Regions from separate parts of the Homo sapiens genome. Here regions 1, 2 and 4 are each linked to region 3. The links are contacts of gene promoters, found by promoter capture Hi-C in human tissues and cell types (Jung and others, 2019). All regions are on one chromosome and are shown on one strand. Each heading gives the region's core, a stretch centred on a gene start or on the middle of the fragment in contact. The rest is flanking DNA. Distances are from core to core; before and after follow the strand shown. Region 1 overlaps BNC2 (basonuclin zinc finger protein 2). Region 2 overlaps BNC2 (basonuclin zinc finger protein 2). Region 3 holds the start of BNC2 (basonuclin zinc finger protein 2). Region 4 overlaps BNC2 (basonuclin zinc finger protein 2).

Evidence for each region. Contacts are between HindIII fragments. The study calls those that stand out against the background at their distance.
Region 1: a fragment that was not itself captured here is called in contact with the fragment with the promoter of BNC2 in region 3 in 1 of the 25 tissues and cell types used here (dorsolateral prefrontal cortex).
Region 2: a fragment that was not itself captured here is called in contact with the fragment with the promoter of BNC2 in region 3 in 1 of the 25 tissues and cell types used here (IMR-90 fibroblasts).
Region 4: a fragment that was not itself captured here is called in contact with the fragment with the promoter of BNC2 in region 3 in 1 of the 25 tissues and cell types used here (mesenchymal stem cells).

Annotation. Positions count from the first base shown.
Region 1 is chr9:16,690,768-16,693,584 of GRCh38, forward strand. The region is part of intron 3 of BNC2 (basonuclin zinc finger protein 2); the gene reads right to left. Among named protein-coding and RNA genes, the nearest start is that of BNC2-AS1, 35 kb to the right of the region's middle. The HindIII fragment of the contact is 4,232 bases long and covers 1-2,817 here.
Region 2 is chr9:16,658,807-16,661,506 of GRCh38, forward strand. The region is part of intron 3 of BNC2 (basonuclin zinc finger protein 2); the gene reads right to left. Among named protein-coding and RNA genes, the nearest start is that of BNC2-AS1, 67 kb to the right of the region's middle. The HindIII fragment of the contact is 4,475 bases long and covers 1-2,700 here.
Region 3 is chr9:16,869,353-16,872,055 of GRCh38, forward strand. It overlaps BNC2 (basonuclin zinc finger protein 2), which reads right to left and starts at 1,318. Exons shown (of 7, transcript NM_017637.6): 1 at 1,294-1,318. The coding sequence starts at 1,296. The HindIII fragment of the contact is 8,994 bases long and covers 1-2,703 here.
Region 4 is chr9:16,727,865-16,730,682 of GRCh38, forward strand. BNC2 (basonuclin zinc finger protein 2) reads right to left here. Exons shown (of 7, transcript NM_017637.6): 3 at 1-133. Among named protein-coding and RNA genes, the nearest start is that of BNC2-AS1, 2.5 kb to the left of the region's middle. RefSeq lists an enhancer at 2,285-2,818. The HindIII fragment of the contact is 4,009 bases long and covers 1-2,818 here.

The sequences.
Region 1 (2,817 bases), core at 82-2,581, 180 kb before region 3:
ATAAAAGAAAATGGAAAAGAGTCAATCAGTATGTGATTCTGTTATGCAACAGGTTGAAAGACACAGAAGGTGACGGAGGTGGGGGGATGCCAGGGTGCGGGGTGGAGCAGGCACAATGTCCTCACAGCCACCAGGAGCTATTTCACTAAGGTTCACTCTTGCTCTTCCCTCAGGAGCTGATCCTCTGGGGTGAGCTGCCAAAGAACAGTGCCCTGGGCTCTGTGATAGGAGCAACCTCTGCAGGTACAATTACAGGAGATTTTTCACAGCCACAAACAACAACAGAAATACCTTGTTTTTATACTGTGAAATATGGGATAAAAGGTAAAAATCTCTCTTCCCTGGTGACACCCTGAGGAGCCTAATGGACCACGAATAATGCTAAAATTACATAGAATCTTTCTTCCAGAGTGCTCAAAGGGCTTTACACGTAATATTTATTAATTCCCACATCAGACAAGTAAGGAAGGGGAGAAATTTCCATTGTACTCCTTTTACTTCTAAATGAGAAAACTGAGACCTATCACTATGGTCTCCCTCTACATTTGATAAAAATGGATAGAAGTGAAATTAAGACAAAGTTCTCTCAATGACTTCGCTAGTGCTTTACTCGAAAAACATCCTACTATTGGACAGATTTCACGTACTTCCTGCAATTCTTGCTTTACCTGGGTTTTAGCATTGGAGAAAATGAGAATGAAGTCACTTGTACCAGATCCACGGATGGGTATGGGTTCTTTTTTTTTTTTTTTTTTTTTTTGAAACAGAGTCTCATTCTGTCACCCAGGCTGGAACGCAGTGGTGCGATCTTGGCTCACTGAAAGCTGTGCCTCCTGGGTTCAAGCGATTCTTCTGCCTCAGCCTCCCGAGTAGCTGGGACTACAAGCACCCACCACCACGCCCAGCTAATTTTTTGTATTTTTAATAGAGATGGGGTTTCACCACGTTAGCCAGGATGGTCTCGATCTCCTGACCTCATGATATGCCCGCCTCGGCCTCCCACAGTGCTGGGATTACAGGCATGAGCCACTGTGCCCAGCCATTTTTTTTTTTTTTTTTTAAAGATGGAGTCTCACTCTGTCACCCAGGCTGGAGTGCAGTGGCGCAATCTCAGCTCACTGCAACCTCTGCCTCCCGGGTTCAAGTGATTCTCCTGCCTCATTCTCCCGAGTAGCTGGGATTACAGGTGCCTGCCACCATGCCTGGCTAATTTTTGTACTTTTAGTAGAGATGGGGTTTCTCCATGCTGGCCAGGCTGGTCTTGAACTCCTGACCTAAAGTGATCTGCCCACCTTGGCCTCCCAAAGTGCTGGGATTACAGGCGTGAGCCACTGCACCCGGCGGGTTCTTATATTTAAGAAAAAAAGGTACAGAATTCTATTATTCTATTGGTTTGCAATCATTCTTGTAATACATTATTTTGGAAATTGAACACCACAGGTTGTTGCTTATGGGCAAATACATTGTCAACTCTGACAACTGACATTAAATGCAATTTCAAGTATGCCACACCCAGGTTAACTTACTTTCTATCCTCAACACTCAACTCCAGCTATCTTAAAGACAGGTAATACTGAAAGAGTTCTAGCTTTGCAATTAGATCTCTGTTTAAATCTCTACCGCAATATCTTGTAAAGTTGCTCAGTTACGTATCTCCGAGCCTTGTTTCCTGCACCTGTAAAATGAGGATACTTATATTTATTGTGCAGGGTTGGCAAGGTTGAATGAGATGACACATGTAAAGCACCTAAGGATTCAGTAGGTACACAGTATATCTGTAAATGGTACTCTGCCCCCAGCCCACAAAAGCAGCACCACAGCATACCAATCCAATGAAGGCTGAGAACTTTGAGACCACGATGGAAGCCGCATAGGGGAAAGGAAAGCAAGCCACAAGGGTCAAAGGAATATTATAAGCAACTGGGGAAACTAAAAAGAGACAGAGTCACTTGGTCTCACTTAGGGACCAAGGGCCAACTCAATCATCTTTTAGAAGGCTTCCTAGAGTGATGCTGTGTTTGGAATGACCGAAAAGATCGCTGTCAGCTCAGAGGGACTTAGTGTTAAAGACTTCACTGGGTGCTGGGCGTCGTGGCTCATGCCTGTAATTCCAGCACTTTGGGGGGCCAAGGTGGGTGGATTACCTGAGGTCAGGAATTCGACACTAGCCTGGCCGACATGGAGAAACTCCGTCTCTACTAAAAATACAAAAATTAGCTGGGCATGGTGGCGGGCACCTGTAATCCCAGCTACTTGGGAGGCTGAGGCAGGAGAATCGCTTGAACCTGGGAGGCAGAGGTTGCAGTGAGCCGAGATCTCACCACTGCACTCCAGCCTGGGCAACACAGTAAGACAGTCTCAAAAAAAAAAAAAAAAAAAAAAGACTTCACTGGGGGATGAGGGGGTGAGAGTGGCAAGAAGCAGCATATCTGCCCCTCCTGCAACCAACCGTTTCACAATTAAAATATAAGGTAATTTTCTGAGTTCTCTTATGCTAGCAGCCTGGCCTATAAATTATTAAAAAGTAAAGAGTTTCCAGAGAACGTGCATGAATAAAATCTGAAGAACCCAACCCTCTGGGGGTGGGCAGCACACTGACAGACAAGACCAATAGTCTCGGTCAGTGCCCAAGGCATGCTTCTTGGCCAAAGATTATTGTGATCATCACCTGAGAGCATGTCTGAAACTCATTTGCATGCCCCACCTGAGACCCACTGTGACAGAAACTGGAGGTGGAGTCCCTCACCTGTGTTTACAAGCCCTCCACGTGATGCTGATGAGCATTAAAGTTTGAGGCTCCCTAGCCCATGTAAACTA
Region 2 (2,700 bases), core at 163-2,662, 210 kb before region 3:
GGCACTCTTTCTTATGCCCACACCCCCCACCCAACTTTTTTCTCTTACACTCTTTTCCCTCTAAAAAGCAATGGCTGAAGGACACATTAGATTTTAAGGTGACAGTTTACATTGTCTTAAAATCATCAACTAGGATCAGAAAAATACATTACGCCGATACACAAACCATTGATCATCGCAACTGTCTCTTTTTTTGAATGTGATTAAACTTAAGCATGAATTCATTTGAGAGCTAGGTCCTAGAACAGTGGCTAACTTAAGAGAGGTACTCAATAAATATTTGCTGAATGGCTGAATGGATGGATAGATGGACAGGTGTGGGTAAATGGCAGATGGATGGCGGGGGGGGGCATGTGAATGCACACACGTGCACTGACTTAATGCAGAGGGCCCTGACAATAGTATTACAGTCAAATTCTATTGTACCGCCATGTAAAAGGGCTCTCCGTTTCATCGTGCCCTTCTGCAATTTCAGGACCCCTGTTCACTGGCAACCACGCTGCTTCTCAAAATCCCAAGCTTGCGGCGGGCACAGTGGCTCACGCGTAATCACAGCACTTTGGGGGGCCGAGGTGGGCAGATCAGGAGGTCAGGAGATTGAGACCATCCTGGCCAACATGGTGAAACCCCATCTCTACTAAAAACACAAAAATTAGCTGTGTGTGGTGGTGCATGCCTGTAATCCCAGCTACTCGGGAGGCTGAGGCAGGAGAATCGCTTGAACCCAGGAGGCGGAAATTGAAGTTAGCCGAGATTGCACCACTGCACTCCAGCCCGGTGACAGAGCGAGACTCCGTCTCAAAAAAAAAAAAAAAAAAATTACCAAGCTTGTTTCTGCATCAGGGTCTTTGTCATTGTTGTTCTCTCTGCTAGAATATTCTTCCCTTGATCTGTGCAGGGCTTGCTCTCTCATTTTATTCAGTTCTCTGCTCAACTGTCATCTCCTCAGCGTTGCTTTTCTTGGCCACACGATGTAAAATAACAGGCTCCTCTCTAGCCTCACTTCCCATCCCCTTATTCTCTGCTTTTTTCTTCATAGCCCTTATTATACTCCCTATCTTATATGTTCTTTACTATTTGTCTTCTCCACTAGAATATAATCTCCAAGGGGAAAGGACTTTGTTACACTGTACCTCCAGCAACCAAATAGATGCCTGAAACAGAATTATATGTTCAGTTAATATCTGTATTCAGCCAAATTATTCCCTGCAAAATATTTTACAAATCTAACATCTCACCCCCAAATAAGTTTTACTCACACTAGGGACCCCATAATTAGTTGTTCTCCAATTGTACTATTTACTAGCACTTTGCATCCCTTGCCCACAATGTCTTGGACTTCCCCTTGAAAATTACACATCTTTGGGGCCGGGCGCGGTGGCTCAAGCCTGTAATCCCAGCACTTCGGGAGGCCGAGTCGGGCGGATCACCTGAGGTTGGCAGTTCAAGACCAGCCTGTCCAACATGGAGAAACTCTGTCTCTACTAAAAATACAAAATTAACCAGGCGTGGTGGCACACGCCTGTAATCCCAGCTACTAGGGAGGCTGAGGAAGGAGAATAGCTTGAACCTGGGAGGCAGAAGTTGCAGTGAGCTGAGATCGTGCCACTGCACTCCAGACTGGGCCATAAGAGCGAAAGTCCATCTCAAAAAAAAAAAAAAAATACATACCACTTTGTATTAGTTCCTTGTTTATGTGTGCACCTCCTACTCTTTAGCAGAACATAAGCTGCCTAAGGTATCCAATAGCACGGACTATAATTAGCCTTCACAAACAAAGCCAAACTTTATTGGATAGCAGAAAAAGAGAAAGGACAAAAAGGGGGAAAAACTAAGTTTCCACAGAATGTGCCAGCCAATATGACTGCTATACAATAGGCCCTCTGTATCTGTGGGTTCTGCATCCATGAATTCAACCAACTGCAGATTGAAAATACTCAGGAAAAAAAAATAACAACACAACAATAAAAATAATAGTAATTTAAAAATCAATACAGTATACCAATTATTTACATAGTATTTACATTTTATATTATACTATGTATTGTAAGTAATATAGAGATGATTTCAAGTGTACGGGAGGATGGACATAGATTATATGCATAGTAATGCCATTTATAAGGAACTAAACCGTCCTCAAATTTTGGTATTTGAGGGAGGTCCTGGAACCAATTCTCTACAGATACTGAAGGATGACTGTAGATGATCTAACTTAATCCTAAATATTCTAAAGTGTATATACCATTATTCCCATTTTAAATGTAAGGAAACTGAGGCTCAAGAAAAGCAATTAACCTTCCCAACGTCATGTGGTAAAATTGATTTTACAACCTAGGGGTTCCTTTCTTCATTCCTAGAGAGAAAGAAGGTGTGAGCCCTTACCTCATTCCTGTATCATCAGAAGAACAGATGTAATGGGTAATATACTCATCTTCTAACAAAAAAACCCTAGGTTTTAAGTCTTACTATAGCTAGTCCTTATTAACTGTTTGAACTTACTTGGATAAACCACATAAACTCTCTCAACCAGTTTCCTCATTTATAAAACAGCATGTACCACCTGCCCTTACTAAATCACAAGTTTACTTGGAGACTGACTTCAATAGTATATGGGGAAGTGATCAGTATACTATATAGCTGTATGTTAGTTCCCCAGAGATGAAAACAAAGCTAAGGTATGTATTATAGAAGACTCTGGAG
Region 3 (2,703 bases), core at 68-2,567:
TTTCAAAACCACTTTAATTTCTGTCAGCGTTACTGTAACCACAGTCCTGGGCTCTTGCTTTTGTGTGTGTGTGTGTGTGTACGCGCCCCTGCATTTGACAGTCCCATCTCCTACACTCCAGTTGTGACTTTGATCACTGAAACAAGAGATGTCACATTAGGGAGCAGGGAAGAGGAAAAAATGCCAACCCGCTATCTCACCTGTATTCTCATATGTTCCCTCTATATACGGAATACACCATGTCAGATCCCCAAGTGGGGGTAACAATAGCGACGCTGGGAGGAAGCAAACTAAAAAGAAGGGAGTGGTCAAGCCCCATTTCTAACAAATCACTTCCCCGAAAGCGGACAGAGCGGCTCATCACCAGGCGAACTAATTGCACGCTTCCTCGCTGCAAAGAAGTCGCTTCTCGTAGAGGGGCTGTGCTGGAGTCTCGCTTGGCAAAGCCAGCCCATCTCCTCCACCACTTGCACTTGGAACTTTTTTTCAACCTTAAACTCACTTCACAGGAGATTTCACCTAGGGTTTTTCAGCATATATAATTTTTTATTCTGCTCCCTCCCCAGGCCCCAAATCCCACCCTCCAGTCAACGTGCAAGTAAAACAAATCGGCTCCTATAGAATTGCACTTCGAAAAGAGCCGTCTCTGCAAGGTTGATTTTCCTGCCCTGCGTTCTGCACCTTCTCCGTAAAGCCTGCGGGAGCATTTCCTCCCATCTCCATTTACCACGGGAAGATTCCGAATGTGAAGACAAGGGGAGAGGAAGAGTCAACGTGCCGGGCCCGGGCGGCTGCGCCCCAGCGCACCCGGCACCCACGCCCAGCCGCCGGTCCCTCACTCGGCGGCAAGTTGTAAAAGTTCCCGTAGGTCCCAGCCGCCTTCCTCTCTTCCCCGAGCTCCTGCCAGCGCTCCATTCATCCCCCACTCCCCTCCACCTCGTCCCCCCAGCCCGTCCCCAACGCCCTGGAGCCTCCCCTAGCCAGCCGCTCACCTTCGCGCGGAAGCCGCGAGCGGGGCCGACCTTGAGAAGCCCCCTCTCACGTGCACCCTCCCACCTAGAGCTCGCCTCAGAAACTTGGGGCCAAGTTTAGGGGAGGCCACTGGGAGCGCAGCGGGGATCAGGTCGGACCGGGGTTCTGGTCCCCGGCCCGCCCTCCTCAGCGCCCCTTGCCCCTCACGCCGCGGGCCGGAGGGCGGACACGGCCCCCGGGCGGCCCCGGTGGCGCTCGGGCGCGGGGGTCATTTCTGAGGAAGTCTAGAATAAAAGAGGAAGGAGGGTGGAAACTTCTTACCATCTCGGCATGCTGGTTGTCAAGTGCAGCCCCCGCCTCTTGGTCTCCTCTTAGCGGCCGCGCCTGGACCAGCCCCTCGGCCGCCGCTGGCTCCCTCCGTCTCGGCCTTTCTCTCCCTCCCCCTCCGAGTTCCTCCGGGCCTCCGCTCTCGCCGCCTCCGCCTCCCCGCCCGCCCGCGCGCGCCCTCGCCGCGGCCCCTCTGCGCTCAGGTGACTGATTTACACTCGCGCCGGGGTCGCGCTCGCGCCCCGAGTCCCAGCCGGCACGGTTCCCCGGCTCCTCCTCGGGACAAAAAAAAAAAAAAAGGGAACGGCTTGTCCCGGGAGGGGGCTGCCCTGCTCGCGGGAGGCGGGGGACCGGCGGGCGAGGTGACCTCGGCGGCCGTGCAAGCCCCACAAGTTTTTCCTCTCTCTGCAGAATTGTCGTGACTACAATGTTGCTTCCCTTTTGCAAAATAAAAGTCGGTCGTTGTGTTGTTTGTCCTCAGAGGTCCAGGGGCTTGGGGAAGGAGGATGTATGTTTCTCCCTCCCCCCACCGCCCCGTGACTTCTTTGGGGGCTTGTTTGTTGTTTGGGTTGTTCTTGCTCTCTCTTTCTGGGGATGGAAAAAACAACTTTGTGGGGATGGAAAAACAACCCTGGCGCCCCCCCCCCCCCCCGGGGAGCTGCGGGCGTGGAGGTAGAGGTGGCCGCTAGCGCCCAGCTGTCACACACACACAAAAAAAAATTGCGGGGCGGGGGTGGGGAGCGGAGCAAGGAGAGGAGGCTGCGAAACGCCGAGGAAAGGGCGCGAACTTTATTCCGACTGCAGCAAACCGCGGCAGCTCTTTCCTTTTCGGGCACTCGGGCGTCTCTGTCCCCTTTGACCAGTTCCTCCTCCCCAGCCCCGCACGCCCCCTCCTCCCCTGCCCCTTCCCCAGCGTCCCAGCCGCGGCCGACCCGGCTCCCCGCGACCCTCTCAGCCCAGCTCCTCCGCGCGCCGCTGGGGAGAAGGCGAGTGAGGCGGAGGAAAACCCAGCGGACAGAAACCTGGGACGCGAACGTGCTGGGAGAAAAGGCCAAAAGTTGCGCGCAGCTGGGGGAAAAAAGTTTTTCTGGTGGCGGAGCGTTTTGTGCCGGCCCAGACGCCGGCTTGCGGCGAGGGCTTCCTTCCCTTTCCCGTGGTCTGGGCCGCGGGCCTCGGGCTGGAGAGGAAGGAGGCTGTCGCGCCCGCGGGGGAAAGAACAGTCACATCTGTGGGTGACACTCAGCCGACCCAAGTCACCCTGCCCTGGAGACTCAGAAACGCCGACTACAGCCTAAGCGCGCACACGCCTGCAGCTGAACGATATTTCTTAAATACAGGCAAAACACACTCCCCGGCCGCAAGAATGGGGCGGGGGTGGGGGGGGAGCTTAATCATCATCATCTA
Region 4 (2,818 bases), core at 262-2,761, 140 kb before region 3:
CCGTAGTCGTTCTGGTTCCGAACTGCATGGAGTTGTCAGTACAGGAGTCTCTTAAAGTCAAGTCTCTTGCCCTCTTTGGCTCTCTGTCTCTCTGTGTCTCTCTTTCTCTCACATCCACTTCTGCCTCTTCTGACTGAAAAGTGAAGGTGGATTTTTTGAGCCTCTTGGCAGCCAGTAGCAGGAGTGTAGTGTAGTTAAGAAGCTGGCTGAACTGTGCATTTCATTTGGGAAGGGGGAGATTTGGGGGAGGGAGGGGGTCAGAGCTTCTTTCGCACCTTCTGCACAGATATCCCTATCATTTATGCATAGATTGTGACTCCCCAAGCTTGCCTTTGCTCAGTTTAACAGCTGCCTGTCAGGTGTGCAGGCGGCACTGGAGACCCAACCATCAGCTTCAAACTCTCAGCCACTGCATGTCATTGGATAGCAGAGCTAAGAGTCAACTGCACTGTTCCACTGTCAGGCACCAAATGACACCCTGCACTAACCCCTCTCCAGATATACAGATAGATACACACTTATGCACACTCCAGGCAGCACCACAATCACGGTGCACAGGGCAAGGGGAAGCTAGGGCCCTTCCCCGGGAATTTTTCTCAACAATGCTTTCTGATATAACACATAATATCTGACACCAGTCTTTGGCTTTAACATTTGTAAAACTGTGATACTTAAATTTTTTTTTAATTACACTGAAGAAAGTAAAATATTCAGCTGTAAGAGAATGTAAAGTTGGCTCAGTTATGGTCTAAATGTTAGCTCCTGAAAGTCATCTCGTATGTGCTGGGCTATTTATAACCACATAGAAACTCCTAAATAACGTACATAGAGATGTGACCTTATACTCTAAAGAGTAAGCAAATAAGCCTAGCAGTTTTTATAACATAGAAGATGCACAATAAACATTTGCCAAATATAAATATATACTATTTAATATCTAGTACCTCAGGCTATTAATTACTAAACTGGATGTTAGCTAATGAGAAACTGAATGGCAAAGGAAAAAAGTATACCTTTTCTTAAAGCTCAGAAGTAGAAAAAAATCCTTTGTTAAAGTTCCTAGATGAAGCATCTGCAATATCCTTTCAAATCGTTAAGAAAAGAAAAAGATAAACAAAAAAAGCCTGTCCCATTTCAGGCAAAAAGTAATGAATATAAAAACTCCATTTTTTATTCAAGATCTCTGTGGAAAATTCTATAACGTTTTCCTGCCTGATGAAATACACCCTTGATAACATGTCGTATTTTTAATTAAACAAGTCTTAAAACTATTCACCTATTTATTAGATAGTATTTGTCTGCCTTATTTATGGAAAAGCAGCACTGAACAAAATGCACTGTACATAAACAGTAAGTTCAAAATGGAAAGCTAAATTCATGCCATCTCATAAAAGTAGTCAGCAGGAAAAAGCCATCCTTCCTAAACTTAACATGTAAGGAACATTAATCTTCAACCACCTACAAATATCGAGGACAAATGTACCACTCTCCTTGTTCCTTCTTAACTCAAGAATAACAATAAACCTTACTCTCTGAAACAACAAAAGAAACAGAAAAGAGCTTCAATGGCAGCTCTGTGTCATTAGTGGACAATGAGAAAAGATGAGAAAACGTACACTATGTTGACACAAATGTGCCTTCCCCTCTAGAACCGACATCTCCTGAAAGCTTTTCTGTTAAACTTCCCTCCAGTTCCCCACCATTAAGCACAAAAAAGTCTCAAAAGAAGCAAATTCAATATCTGAGAGGAAACAAACAAGAACCCAAAGAATTGTTGCCTTAAAATATATTAAGTCCACCTGTGGTCAATAAAAATATTCTTGCTGGGGGGGAGGGCAGGAAAATCCCCTACGAGTCAATTGTCAACAGTGACTGTACCTTTAGTGCTAGCTATTACCCACTTAAACTCCCTCTAAAATTTGCTAGCCTCTTGATTTCTGAAGTGGCACTCAGTGCCTCAGTCAAGCTGCCTGCTCAGCTCCTGACCTTCCCACTAATGGCTGTTATTTGTGGGAGGCTTAAGGACACTGTCAATAGCAAGCTTCCTCCTCCTTCCACTCAGGCTCTGTTGTATCGCTTTGCCTGTGTGTTTTTGCCTGTGTTCTCTCTCGCCTCTCACTCGCCCTCTCCTTGTCTCTTTCTCCCCCTCCTTCACTCCCTCTTCCTCTTTTTCTAGCCCCCACCCCGTTTTTTCTCAGTCCTGCAGTCCTCTTCTTTCCCAGGTATCCTACCCAACACCCCACACACACACTAACAACACAAAAATCAACTGGCATGCAGCAGCAAGCACCTGCAGTAATAGACTCTTTTATTAAAACTGTTATTCTGCAAGACTTGAAATTCCCCGTGGACCGGGCCATGTCAAAGCCGATATAATTAACTAGAGGCTCAGCAACGGATCAATTACCAGACAAGCAAGTGATAGTGAAATCAATGAAAGATCATCAGCCACATTATCAGTGTTGCAACTCATTAGGGCAAAACTGAGAAATGTGCTCAAAGCAAGCCCAAGCAAGGTGGCATTACAAAACAAAGGGCTAATTTGGAGACCCTGCTGTGAACAATCTGTAACAGAATTAGCCTTTTTTCCCCCTAAACTGCACAGCTCCGTAACTAAATGTGACAGACTGAGAGAAGCAGTTTATTAAGACACCAACCCCAAGTTTATTTAGTTCATAAACTCTCTCCTAGAAAATCAATACAGTCTGTACAGGGTTATTAGGCTGACTAGCTAATACATCCAAATCTAGTCTGCCCAGCCAGCAGTCTTCTGACAAAATGCTACCCAGTATAGGCAAACTGAGCTCCTTCAGATATC